4 separate regions of the Homo sapiens genome follow, and all the other regions are linked to region 1. Evidence: promoter capture Hi-C in 16 types of primary human blood cells and fetal thymus (Javierre and others, 2016). All regions are on one chromosome and are shown on one strand. The core of a region is centred on a gene start or on the middle of the fragment in contact, and the rest is flanking DNA. Distances in the headings are between cores, read along the strand shown.

The links. Contacts are between HindIII fragments. The CHiCAGO score rates a contact against its expected background, and 5 or more counts as called.
Region 2: a contact is called between a fragment that was not itself captured here and the fragment with the promoter of PRAF2 in region 1, in 2 of 17 cell types (non-activated CD4 T cells and total CD8 T cells). The highest score is 5.5, in non-activated CD4 T cells.
Region 3: the fragment with the promoter of WAS here is called in contact with the fragment with the promoter of PRAF2 in region 1 in 3 of 17 cell types (total B cells, M1 macrophages and total CD4 T cells); the score reaches 7.2 in total B cells.
Region 4: a contact is called between a fragment that was not itself captured here and the fragment with the promoter of PRAF2 in region 1, in 1 of 17 cell types (non-activated CD4 T cells). The highest score is 5.2, in non-activated CD4 T cells.

The regions. Positions count from the first base shown.
Region 1 is chrX:49,072,551-49,075,251 of GRCh38, reverse strand. PRAF2 (PRA1 domain family member 2) reads left to right here and starts at 1,250. Exons shown (of 3, transcript NM_007213.3): 1 at 1,250-1,443; 2 at 2,602-2,701. The coding sequence starts at 1,265. WDR45 (WD repeat domain 45) reads left to right here. Exons shown (of 11, transcript NM_001029896.2): 10 at 1-116; 11 at 340-810. The coding sequence ends at 449. RefSeq lists a silencer at 968-1,067. The HindIII fragment of the contact is 3,027 bases long and covers 754-2,701 here.
Region 2 is chrX:48,593,550-48,596,250 of GRCh38, reverse strand. No RefSeq gene overlaps it. Among named protein-coding and RNA genes, the nearest start is that of WDR13, 2.6 kb to the left of the region's middle. The HindIII fragment of the contact is 2,361 bases long and covers 157-2,517 here.
Region 3 is chrX:48,682,488-48,685,188 of GRCh38, reverse strand. It overlaps WAS (WASP actin nucleation promoting factor), which reads right to left and starts at 1,390. Exons shown (of 12, transcript NM_000377.3): 1 at 1,204-1,390; 2 at 766-906. The coding sequence starts at 1,335. The HindIII fragment of the contact is 18,512 bases long and covers 1-2,701 here.
Region 4 is chrX:48,809,814-48,812,514 of GRCh38, reverse strand. The region is part of intron 10 of HDAC6 (histone deacetylase 6); the gene reads right to left. Among named protein-coding and RNA genes, the nearest start is that of HDAC6, 9.1 kb to the right of the region's middle. The HindIII fragment of the contact is 7,978 bases long and covers 1-2,701 here.

The DNA.
Region 1 (2,701 bases), core at 1-2,500:
GATTGGGCAGTACGTGGACTCTCAGTGGAGCCTGGCGAGCTTCACTGTGCCTGCTGAGTCAGCTTGCATCTGCGCCTTCGGTCGCAATACTTCCAAGAACGTCAACTCTGTCATTGGTGAGTGGGAACAGCCCCTTGGTTGGGGGTACTGCATGGGGCAAAGGCCTGCAGGTTGGACCTGAAAGGATTTTAGGGCCATGTGAGGCTCAGCTTCATCATCAGTAAGGGGGACAGCACTGGGCAAAGGCCTGGAGGCAGACCCTAGGTCCTGAGATGCCTGAGAGGACTGGAGCCTGTGGCTGTGGCAGCCTCTGACCTTTTACCACCCCCCCTCCCCCAGCCATCTGCGTAGATGGGACCTTCCACAAATATGTCTTCACTCCTGATGGAAACTGCAACAGAGAGGCTTTCGACGTGTACCTTGACATCTGTGATGATGATGACTTTTAAGGACCCTGGGGGCTGTGCTAGGGACCTGCAGTGGCAGAACTGCAGAGCTGAGCCTTGGCAGTGGGGCGTGCTTGGAAGCCACCAGCCAGCAAGCATTAATGGGGCTGGTGCCCACTTTCCACTCAGCAGAGCTATGTCTAAATAAAGAGCTCACTTCCCCCCAGCACTTCTTGATGACTGTGTGCCCCAAGGGCCAGGCCAGAGACCCAGGAAGGCAGCGACCCCTTGGGATCCCTAACCTGGAGGAAATTGCCAGGGACCCAGAGGGAGTGCCCTAATCCAACCTGGGGATTTTTTAAAAGCTTCCTAGGAAGAGATGATCTCCGATGTGATGAATACGAATAAAAGGCCCTTAATGGCATTTACGGCTTGACCTCAGGGGCGGGGCATGGAGTTTCCTGGAGAAATGTGACCCTCTTGGGCGCTGACAGGAAGGAGGTGGAATCCAACTCGGATCCTTGTGACAGTCCCTCCTTTCTTATCTGTCTGGCTACTTTGTGCTTGAGCCGCTGGCACCGCCCGGAGCAGCCCCTGCGGCGCCCCGCGCGGGGGTGGATGGCAGTTTTAAGGGTTGGGAGCATCTCGCTTCGTGGCAAAGGCTTGATTTCCCGGCAGCCTTTGCTGCTTTCCTGAGCGGCGTGTTAGTTGCTTTTCCGGTCACGTGCATCGCCGCCCCTGCGCAATCCACCTAGGAGGTTAGGAAAAAGCTGCCCAGCCCAGACTCCATTTCCCGGTGTGCCCCGCGGTGGCGAGGGGCGTAACGGTTGTTGTAGTCCGGCCCCCTCCTGGCTGGTCCAGCCACATTAACCGGCAGGATGTCGGAGGTGCGGCTGCCACCGCTACGCGCCCTGGACGACTTTGTTCTGGGGTCGGCGCGTCTGGCGGCTCCGGATCCATGCGACCCGCAGCGATGGTGCCACCGCGTCATCAACAACCTCCTCTACTACCAAACCAACTACCTTCTCTGCTTCGGCATCGGCCTCGCTCTCGCCGGGTGAGGGAGGGAGGCGCCGGTTGGCCAGGGACGTCTGCAGAGCGTGGGGGTAGACCCACAGGTCTTTGAGGACCAGGACGGGGAACCTGAGGGGGGTGCAAGGCCGGGAAGGGCGAAGTCAGTAGAGATGGACGGCCTGAGGGGCTTGGAAGGGGGGCCTTGAAGGAGGTGGAGCCTAGTTATAAGGAGGGCCTCAGGGAGATGGAGCCTGGCTGATGAGGAGGGCCTGCGGGGGATGGGGGTCTGCAAGGAAGATATGGGGAGGATGGAGACAAGTGTGGGACTGAAGGGGAAAGTGGGCTGGAAGGTGAACCGGAAAAAAAGGAGGGCCCGAAAGGGGGACATGAGAGTACTTGAGGGGCGTAGGGGGGGTGTGATGTGAATGATGGGGCCAGATTGAGGCCGACCCTGGAGTACTTAGGGCAGAGACCGGGAAATAGACGGTAAAGTTGGAGGGTTTGGAAGATGTATTTATTGGGGATCCGGTCTTGGAGGGGAGCCTGGCTATGATTGGAAGGCGCCAGGGGCAGGTACCTGTTGGGGAACTTGGGCCCAGGAGGAGGATCCATGGTTGGAAAGCCTGAGACCAGAGAGGGATGGAGAATCTGGAGGAAGGACTTGAGCAGTGCTGAAAGTTCAGAGTGGGGCTGACGACCTGGAAGAGGTCCTAGCAATGATGGAGGGAGGAATCTATAGGGAAATGGGAGCCTGGAGGGCGGTTCTATAAGGACCCTAGGCCTGGGGAGAGGGGAACGTGTGAAGACAGAAGGCCTGAAAGAGGGATTTGCAGGGGCTGGTGTTAAAGGGGGAGCTTGCGGGCAGGCTGATGAGGGGCCCTACGGGGGCAGAGTCGGAAGGAAAGTCCAGGGAAGTGTTGGGAGCCCGGGGGTGTGGGGAGTGTCTAGCAGGATGGGAGGGCCTGAAGCGGGGACCTGAGGAAGACAGGACAGTGGAATTGACAAGGAGGAAAGGAGGGGTCTACAAGGGTGAGTCGGGAGCCCTGGCAGATGGGCCTGCTGGAGATAGGGCTGGTGGGAGGATGTGCCAGGCTGGAGTGTCCGGAGACGGGAGACCCTGGCTCTTGGGGCCCAGGGTGGGTGGTGGTCCGGAGGCCGTCTCTCCGCCCGGCCGGCTAGCTTGGTTCCCTTGTACCCGCAGGTACGTGCGGCCACTTCATACGCTCCTGAGCGCGCTGGTAGTGGCGGTGGCCCTCGGCGTGCTGGTGTGGGCAGCTGAGACCCGCGCAGCTGTGCGCCGC
Region 2 (2,701 bases), core at 88-2,587, 480 kb after region 1:
TGTTGGATCTTAACATCAACTGACATAAAATTCAAAGCTGTTATTTTCCACATTATTTTTATAACAAATACAATCAATTCAACAATGTTTTAAAGTCACCGAAAGATCACACTGTATTGTGTTGACTCAGCATCTCCCTTGTCCCTGTAACAAGCTTATCAGTGTCTTTTCATATTAAATACTCTTTTGTAACATGATTGATAAAGAGTAAACTCTATTTCACTGCACAAACATGTAACCTTAACAAGAACAACTAATATTTATGAGACAATGTGCTGGGTACTGTTCAAGGTATTTTATACATATATTAATCTATTTAATCTTTTTTTTTTTTTTGAGATGGGGTTTCACTCTGTCACCCAGGCTGGAGTGCAGTGACACGATCTTGGCTCACTGCAATCTCTGCCACCTGGGCTCAAGCAGTCCTCCTACCTCAGCCTCCCGGGAGCTGGGACCACAGACATTTGCCACCACGCCCGGATAATTTTTCTATTTTTGGTAGAGACGGGGTTTCACCATGTTGGCCAGGCTGGTCTCAAACTCCTGAGCTCAAGTGATTCGCCCGCCTCGGCCTCCCTAAGTGCTAGGATTACAGGCGTGAGCCACTGTACCCAGTCAATTTAATCATAATAACTGAAGGTTGTGGGTCCTGTTACTATCCCCATTTTACAGATGAGGATATCTGAAGCCCAGGGAATTCAAGGGTGACATTTTATTGAACTGGTTCCCTTACGTTTTTTTTTTTTTTTTTTTTTTTAAGACATGGTGTCAACTGGGCGTAGTGGCTTATGTCTGTAATCCCAGCACTTTGGAAGGCTGAGGCGGGAGGATCACTTGAGTCCAGGAAGTTGAGACCAGCCTGGGGAACAAAGTGAGACCCCATCTCTACCAAAAATTAGGCATGGTGGTACATCCCTGTAGTCCCAGCTACTCGGGAGGCTGAGGCAGAAGAATTGCTTGAGCCTGGGAGGTTAAGGCTGCAGTGAGCTGTGATCATGCCACTACACTCCAACCTGGGCAACAGAGCGAGACCCTGTCTCTTAAAAAAAAAAAAAGAGGTCGGATGTGGTGGCTCACACCTGTAATCCCAGCACTTTGGGAGGCTGAGGCGGGCAGATCACCTGAGGTTAGGAATTCGAGACCAGCCTGGGCAACATGGTGAAACTCTGTCTCTACTAAAAATACAAAAAATTAGCCGGGCATGGTGGCAGGAGCCTGTAATCCCAGCTACTTGGGAGACTGAGGCAAGGACAATCACTTGAACCCTGGAGGCGGAGGTTGCAGTGAGCTGAGATCGTGCCATTGCACTCCAGCCTGGGCAACAAGAGCGAAACTCCATCTCAAACATAAATTAATTAAAAAAGAGAGAGCGACATGGGGTCGGCTGGGCATGGTGGCTCGTACCTGTAATCCCAATACTTTGGGAGGCCAAGGCAAGAAGATCACTTGAGTCTAGGAGTTTGAGACCAGCCTGGGCAACACAGTGAGACTACATCTCTACAAAAATAAAATTAGCTGGGTGTGGTGGTGTGTGCTCATAGTCCCAGCTACTCAGGAGGGTGAGGTGGGAGGATTGCTTGAGCCTGGGAGGTCAAGGCTGCAGTGAGCCATGCCACTGCACTCTGGCTTGGATGTTAGAGTAAGACCCTGTTTTTTTTTTTTGTTTTTTTTTTTTGTTTTTTTTAAAAAGAGAGAGATATGGGGGTATCTTGATATGTTGCCCAGGCTGGTCTCGAACTCGTGGCCTTGAGGCATCCTTCCACCTCAGCCTCCCAAGGAGCTGAGATTTACAGGCATGAGCCACTGCACCCAGCCCTGAACTGGTCCCCTATTTGTGACTGGCATTGGGTTTATTTCCATGTTCTTTTTTCACCATAAAGAGTGTTGTGATAAATACCTTTCCCATTCACTTCCACCTTCTCTCAACAGAGCCCTGCCCCTTCATCCCACCACTCTGCTTCCAAAGAAATATGATGGAATGAAATAACAGAAGAGTCAGGAATTCGAGTCAGGGATACCTGGGAAATTCTGTTTCACCATTGGAATGAATTCTTTTATTGTTTTTCAATATTAACATATTAAATTTATAAAAATTATTTTTAAAACCTCTTCCTATAAGGCTATAAGATACTAGACAAAACAAGCTGATGAAAGGTTTGTTGGCTGGGCACTGTGGCTCACGCCTGTAATCCCACCACTTTGGGAGGCTGAGGAGGGTGGGTCACTTGAGGCCAGGAGTTAGAGACCAGCCTCGCCAACATGGGCACCTCTGCCTCCCAGCTCAAGCGATTCTCGTGCCTTAGCCTCCCAAGTAGCTGGGACTACAATCGTGCACTACCATGCCAGGCTAATTTTTGTGTTTTTAGTAGAGATGGGTTTCACCATATTGGCCAGGCTGGTCTCGAACTCCTGACCTCACGTGATTTGCCTGCCTTGGCCTCCCGAAGTGCTGGATTACAGGCATGAGCCACTCAGCTGGTTTTTCTTGATTAAACATTCCTCTGCTTGTTACAAGCTTTCGGTTAGTTTTCAAAGTTTGAGACCTGCCTGACAGCATGGTGAGACTCTATCTTTACAAAATAAAAAAAAATAACCAGGCATGATGGTGTACACCTGTAGTCCCAGCTATTCAAGAGGCTGAGGTGGGAGATCACTGGAGCCTGCGAAGTTGAGGCTGCAGTGAACCGTGATCACACCACTG
Region 3 (2,701 bases), core at 141-2,640, 390 kb after region 1:
GTATTTGGGGGTTGGAGTTGAGATTTGAAGTTCAGACACATAGACTTGGGAGTTTCGCGGGGAGTCCAGCTAAAGTAAGTGCAATTTGGGGTTTGTGGAGAGAGTTATGGTTTAGGAGTTTGGTGGATATTTGATAGCCTTGGGATCTGGAAGTTATGCTGGGTCCATCTTTATGGGTTTAAAAGGATGAATTTGGGGCTTAAACCTAGAAAGTTCAGGTCAGGGGATTGTGGAAAAGACTTTTTGCTTAAGAACTACCTCGGTATTTGAGTGTTCAGGAATTTTAATATGGGAACTCTGGGGTCTGTGCTGTGGATTTAGAAGGACAGATTTGGAGTTCAAGGATCAATGGAATATTCAACTTTGGGGTTTGTTGAACAGATTTATGACTTAGGAGCTTGGCAAACATCTGGGGTTCAGGAGTTTTGATGAGAGATTCCTGGGATGCAAAATGTTGAGTTTAGAATAGATTTGAGGTTCAGGTACAAATACAGTGCTCATTTATTGGAATTTGTGGAAAAGATTAGGCTTAGGCAGCAGACTAATACTGGGGGCTTTAGAGATCTTGATACGGAGACTGGGGCCAGTCATTGCAGACTTAGAAAGGCAAGTCAGAGTTTGCCATCTGGATGAGTCTTTGGTTCTGGGGCTCAGGGATTCACTGATCAGGTCTGAGGTCTTGAAGCTATGGACACATATGGACACAGATCTGGGTTTGCGGGTTGAGAACTGGCTTGCAAGTCCAGTCGGGGGTGGGGGGGTCACCTGAAGGCCGTAAAGGCGGATGAAGTAGGACTTCTGGGGGTTATCCTTCACGAAGCACACAGCCCCACAATGCTCCTTGGTCCAGTGCTCAGCTCCAGGGGGCAGCGCCAGGTACAGCTGAACAACTGCAGTGGCCAGCGTCTGGGAGAGGAAAGCAGGGGTCAGTGGAGTCTGGTCAGGGGTAGCCACAAGGTCTTGGAGCCAGACCTGGTCCTTCCTGCCTCATGACAGTCATGGGCCCAAAGGAAGAGCTGCAGCCAGAGGGAAGGCAAGTAGACATTGAGATCTTCCTGGGAAGGGTGGATTATGACGGGAAATTCTAGGAGAGGAGATGATGGAGAGGGAAAGGAGGAGCGGGAGGAGGGGAAGAGAGAGAAGGAGGAGAGGAAGAGGAAGAAACGGTGGGGACGGGGCGGGGGCAGGAGATCCCCAGCTCACCAAGCATTTTCGTCCAAGCATCTCAAAGAGTCGCTGGTTCTCGTGGTCCTGGAGGAGGGTGGAGGGTATGTTCTGCTGAACCGCTGGTGCTCCTCGGCCCCCGGGCCTTCCTCCCATTGGGCCCCCACTCATGGTGCTTTCTGCCCTTGTCTTCTCTGGCGAGGCTCTGGGTGCAGGGTAAGAAGAGGAACTTCCGCAATGAGCAGCAAGGGAACAGGAAATGCAAAAAACCACAAGGGACAAGGGAAACAAGTCCTCCAGGGGCCCCTTGGTGGGCCTGGCCTCCTCGTTAGGCTGAGCTTGGGCCCTCCGCCATCAGATTGGAACCCTCCTCCACTTGACTGCTTAGACCCACCTTTTGGATCAGCTTGGGTCCTCCTCCCCCTTTCTTACTCTCTGGGGCCCATCTCCTTCTGACTGGCTCAGACCCTCCTCCCTCTGGCTGGCAGCGAGAGCTTAGCACATCTGTGTGCAGGGCTCCCTGTGGCAAGGAGTAGTCATGGGCCTGGGTGGCCTCCTTTCTAAAGCACCTAGGTAGCCTGAGGCTGAGGCCCGAGGTCCCTAGTCCGGAAGGGTTACTACAGTAAAACTTTTCCTTTTGGCTGGGGACAATAGCTCACACCTGTAATCCCAGCACTTTGGGAGGCCGAGACGAGTGGATCACTTGAGGTCAGGAGTTCAAGACGAGCCTGGGCAACATGGCAAAACCCCATTTCCACTAAAAAATACAAAAATTAGCCAGGCATGGTGGCACACACCTGTAGTCCTAGCTGCTCAGGAGGCTGAGGCAGGAGAATCGCTTGAACCCAGGAGGCGGAGGTTGCAGTGAGCTGAGACTGCACCACTGCACTCCAGCCTGGATGATGACAGAGCAAGACCCTTGTCTCAAAAACAGCAACAACAACAACACAACAAAAACCCTTTTCCTTTTAATTACAGAGCGAGCCCCTGTGATCCACGCCTATCGTGAGTGCTTAGACACTGCCAATGACGCATATGCCTCTGGTCCACTTCCCCATCCCTTACCCTTGCCTCCCCGCAGCTCCCAAATTACTTTCTGCTTGTCATACTTTTTTTTTTCTTTTTTTTTTTGAGATGGAGTCTCACTCTGTCGCCAGGCTGGAGTGCGGTGGCACGATCTCGGCTCACTGCAACCTTTGCCTCCCGGGTTCAAGTGACTCTCCTGCCTCAGCCTCCCAAGTAGCTGGGACTACAGGCACACGCCACCACGCCCAGCTAATTTTTTTGTATTTTTAGTAGAGACAGGGTTTCACCATGTTGGCCAGGATGGTCTCGATTTCTCGACCTCGTGATCCACCTGCCTCGGCCTCCCAAAGTATTAGAATTACAGGCGTGAGCCACCGTGCCCAGCCCATCCCTTTTTTAAAGAAAGGAACTTTATATCATATATGAATGCCTGAACAACATCTTGTTTAGTTTTCATTGCACTTGAAGTTTGTAAAAGCACATAATCTTCAAAGGCTTGCTTTCTCCCCAC
Region 4 (2,701 bases), core at 148-2,647, 260 kb after region 1:
GTTTCCTTTCTGGAGAAATCCAGTACAGATCCAGGTCAATGCACACAAAATCCCTTCTGAAGAGCCAACTCACTGAATCACCAATACAACAAAGTTACTTGTTTCTTTTAACTACTTAGTTTTAGATCATCTGCTTTCCTTGTCTTCACAACAGTATTTTAAGGATTATCCAGTTTGTCTCCCTGCTGCTGGAGTTCAGAGACTGAGAGATGGGGAGCTGGGAGATCCAAGGGCATGGACATGTTCTTTTTGTTTGTTTGTTTACACACGTTTGTTAATAAGGAAGAATGCACTGAATATATTCACAGTGTTTCACATCTGTGTGTGTAATCAATAGTGTACCCATGAAAGAACACACAGCTATAGCCTCCTATGCATTTATTCAAACAAAAAGAATGATTAATGATATTAAAGAATTCTTTGAATGACAGACCCTTGGCAGATTAAAAAAATAATTATTGTTAATTTTCAGGTATTGATACTAAGGTAATGCTTTTCTAAAAAAGTGTACTTATGTTTTAGAGATGCATTCTGAAATATTTACAGGAGAAATTATATGGTATCTGGGATTAGCTTTGAAGGAAAACAGGAAGAGGGCAGTGGGTACAGGTATAGATGAAATGAGATCGGCCAATGAGTTGATAAATGTTGAAGCATTAAATTCCAGAAGCCAGAAATGAACAAAATAAAGAACGTCGGAGGAAAACATTAATAAAGATAAAACCAGAAAAATTAATGAAGTATTAAAAACCCACCATAATAAAACAGTAGAGATGACCAACAAAGCCCAAAGCTACACTGGAAAAGATAAGTACAACAGATACACTTTGGAAAGGCTGAGGGAAAAAAGAGATGTTACCCCAAAGAAGAGGCCTCCTTTGTTCTGACATCTGGCAGGATCCCATCTAATGCCCGGGTCCTTGCCCACACTCGCTAAAGTTGCAACCTGTCAGTGGACATTCCCTGTCCCCATTCTGGGGAAATGCCTTTCAGGAAAACAGACCTACAAACACTGCAGCAGAGTAGTCCTCTGACAGCCCCCTACAATGGGCCTTCATTCTTGGGTATAAATAGCCAAATAAGGATTGCTAGACATTTGAGGAAAACCATCAGCATAAAAGAGAAGGACCAAGAAAAAAATAATTCAACCAGCCTCAGAATAAAGAGACATAACTCAGACAACAGAAGAAACTTAAGGCACTTCCTTTTTTGAGACAGGGTCTCCCTCTATCGCCCAGGCTGGAGTGCAGTGGCATGATCTTGTCTCACTGCAACCTCCGCCTCCTGGGTTCAAGCGATTCTCCTGCCTCAGCCTCCTGAGTAGCTGGGATTACAGGTGCGCACCATCACGTCTGGGTAATTTTTGTATTTTTAGTAGAGATGGGGTTTCACCATGTTGGCCAGACTGGTCTCGAACTCCTGGCCTCAAGTGATCCACTCACCTCGGCCTCCCAAAGTGCTGGGATTACAGGCATGAGCCACCGCACCCAGCCGGCACTTCTAATCCATACTCTATAAAAACAAGATCAGGTATGAGAGGACATAGAAACAGAGAGGAAGAAAGAGCTTTTGGAGTTTAACAGGATATCTAAATACATAATTCAACAGAAGGGCTTGAAGATAAAGTTGACAAAATCTCCCAGGTCACAGCAAAAGAAAAAAGAGACAGAAAACATAAGATAAAAAATAAGAAGCCTGGGCAACATGGTGAGACCCCATCTCTACAAAAGATTAAAAAATTAGCTGGGTATGCTGGTGTGCACCTGTGGTCCCAGCTACTCAGGAGGCTGAGGCATGAGGATTGCTTGAGCCCGGGAGGTCGAGGCTGCAGTGAGTCGTATTTGTGCCACTGTACTCCAGTCTGGGCAACAGAGCAAGACCTTGTCTCAAAAAAAATAAATAAATAAATAAATAAATAAATAATAAAAAAGAGAGAGACATAGAGGATCAACCCAGGAAGTCTAACATCTGACTAACAGAAGTCCTAGAAAGAGAACAGAGAAAACAAAGAAGAAATTATCAAAGATCTAATAGAAAATAATTTCCAAGAGTTTAAGAAAAGCATGAATCTTCAGATGTAAAATGTCTACCTACTATTAAACAGAGTGAAAAGGCCAGGGTAAAAGTTTAGAACATCAAGGCTAGGTACAGTGGCTCATGCCTGTAATCTCAGTGCTTTGAGAGGCTGCAGTGGGAGGACACTTGAGGTCAGGAGTTCGAGACCAGTCTGGGCAATATAGTGAGACCCTGTCTCTACAAATAATTTAAAAAATTAGCTGGGTGTGGTGGCACATGCCTGCAGTCCTAGCTACTTGGGAGGCTGAGGCAGGAGGATTGCTTGAGCCCAGGAGTTTGAGGTTACAGTGGGCTATGATCATGCTACTATACTCCAGCCTGGGTGACAGAGTGATACCCTGTCTAATAATTTAAAAAAAAAAAAAAAAGAACACCAAGATAACCTTGCAGAGAGGAAAGTAGATTACTTGGAAAGGAATGAAAAGCAGACACCTGTCAGGAACACTGAATGCTGCAAAATAATAAAGCAATGTCTAGAGAACAACCAACCTAAATTGGATTCTTCAGATCTTGGATAAGTGGATTCTCTGTAGTCAGCTAGGAAGAAGGCTAGATAAAACTACTACAGGTTGAGCATCCCTAATCTAGAAATCTGAAATCTGAAATGCTGTAAAATCCTAAACTT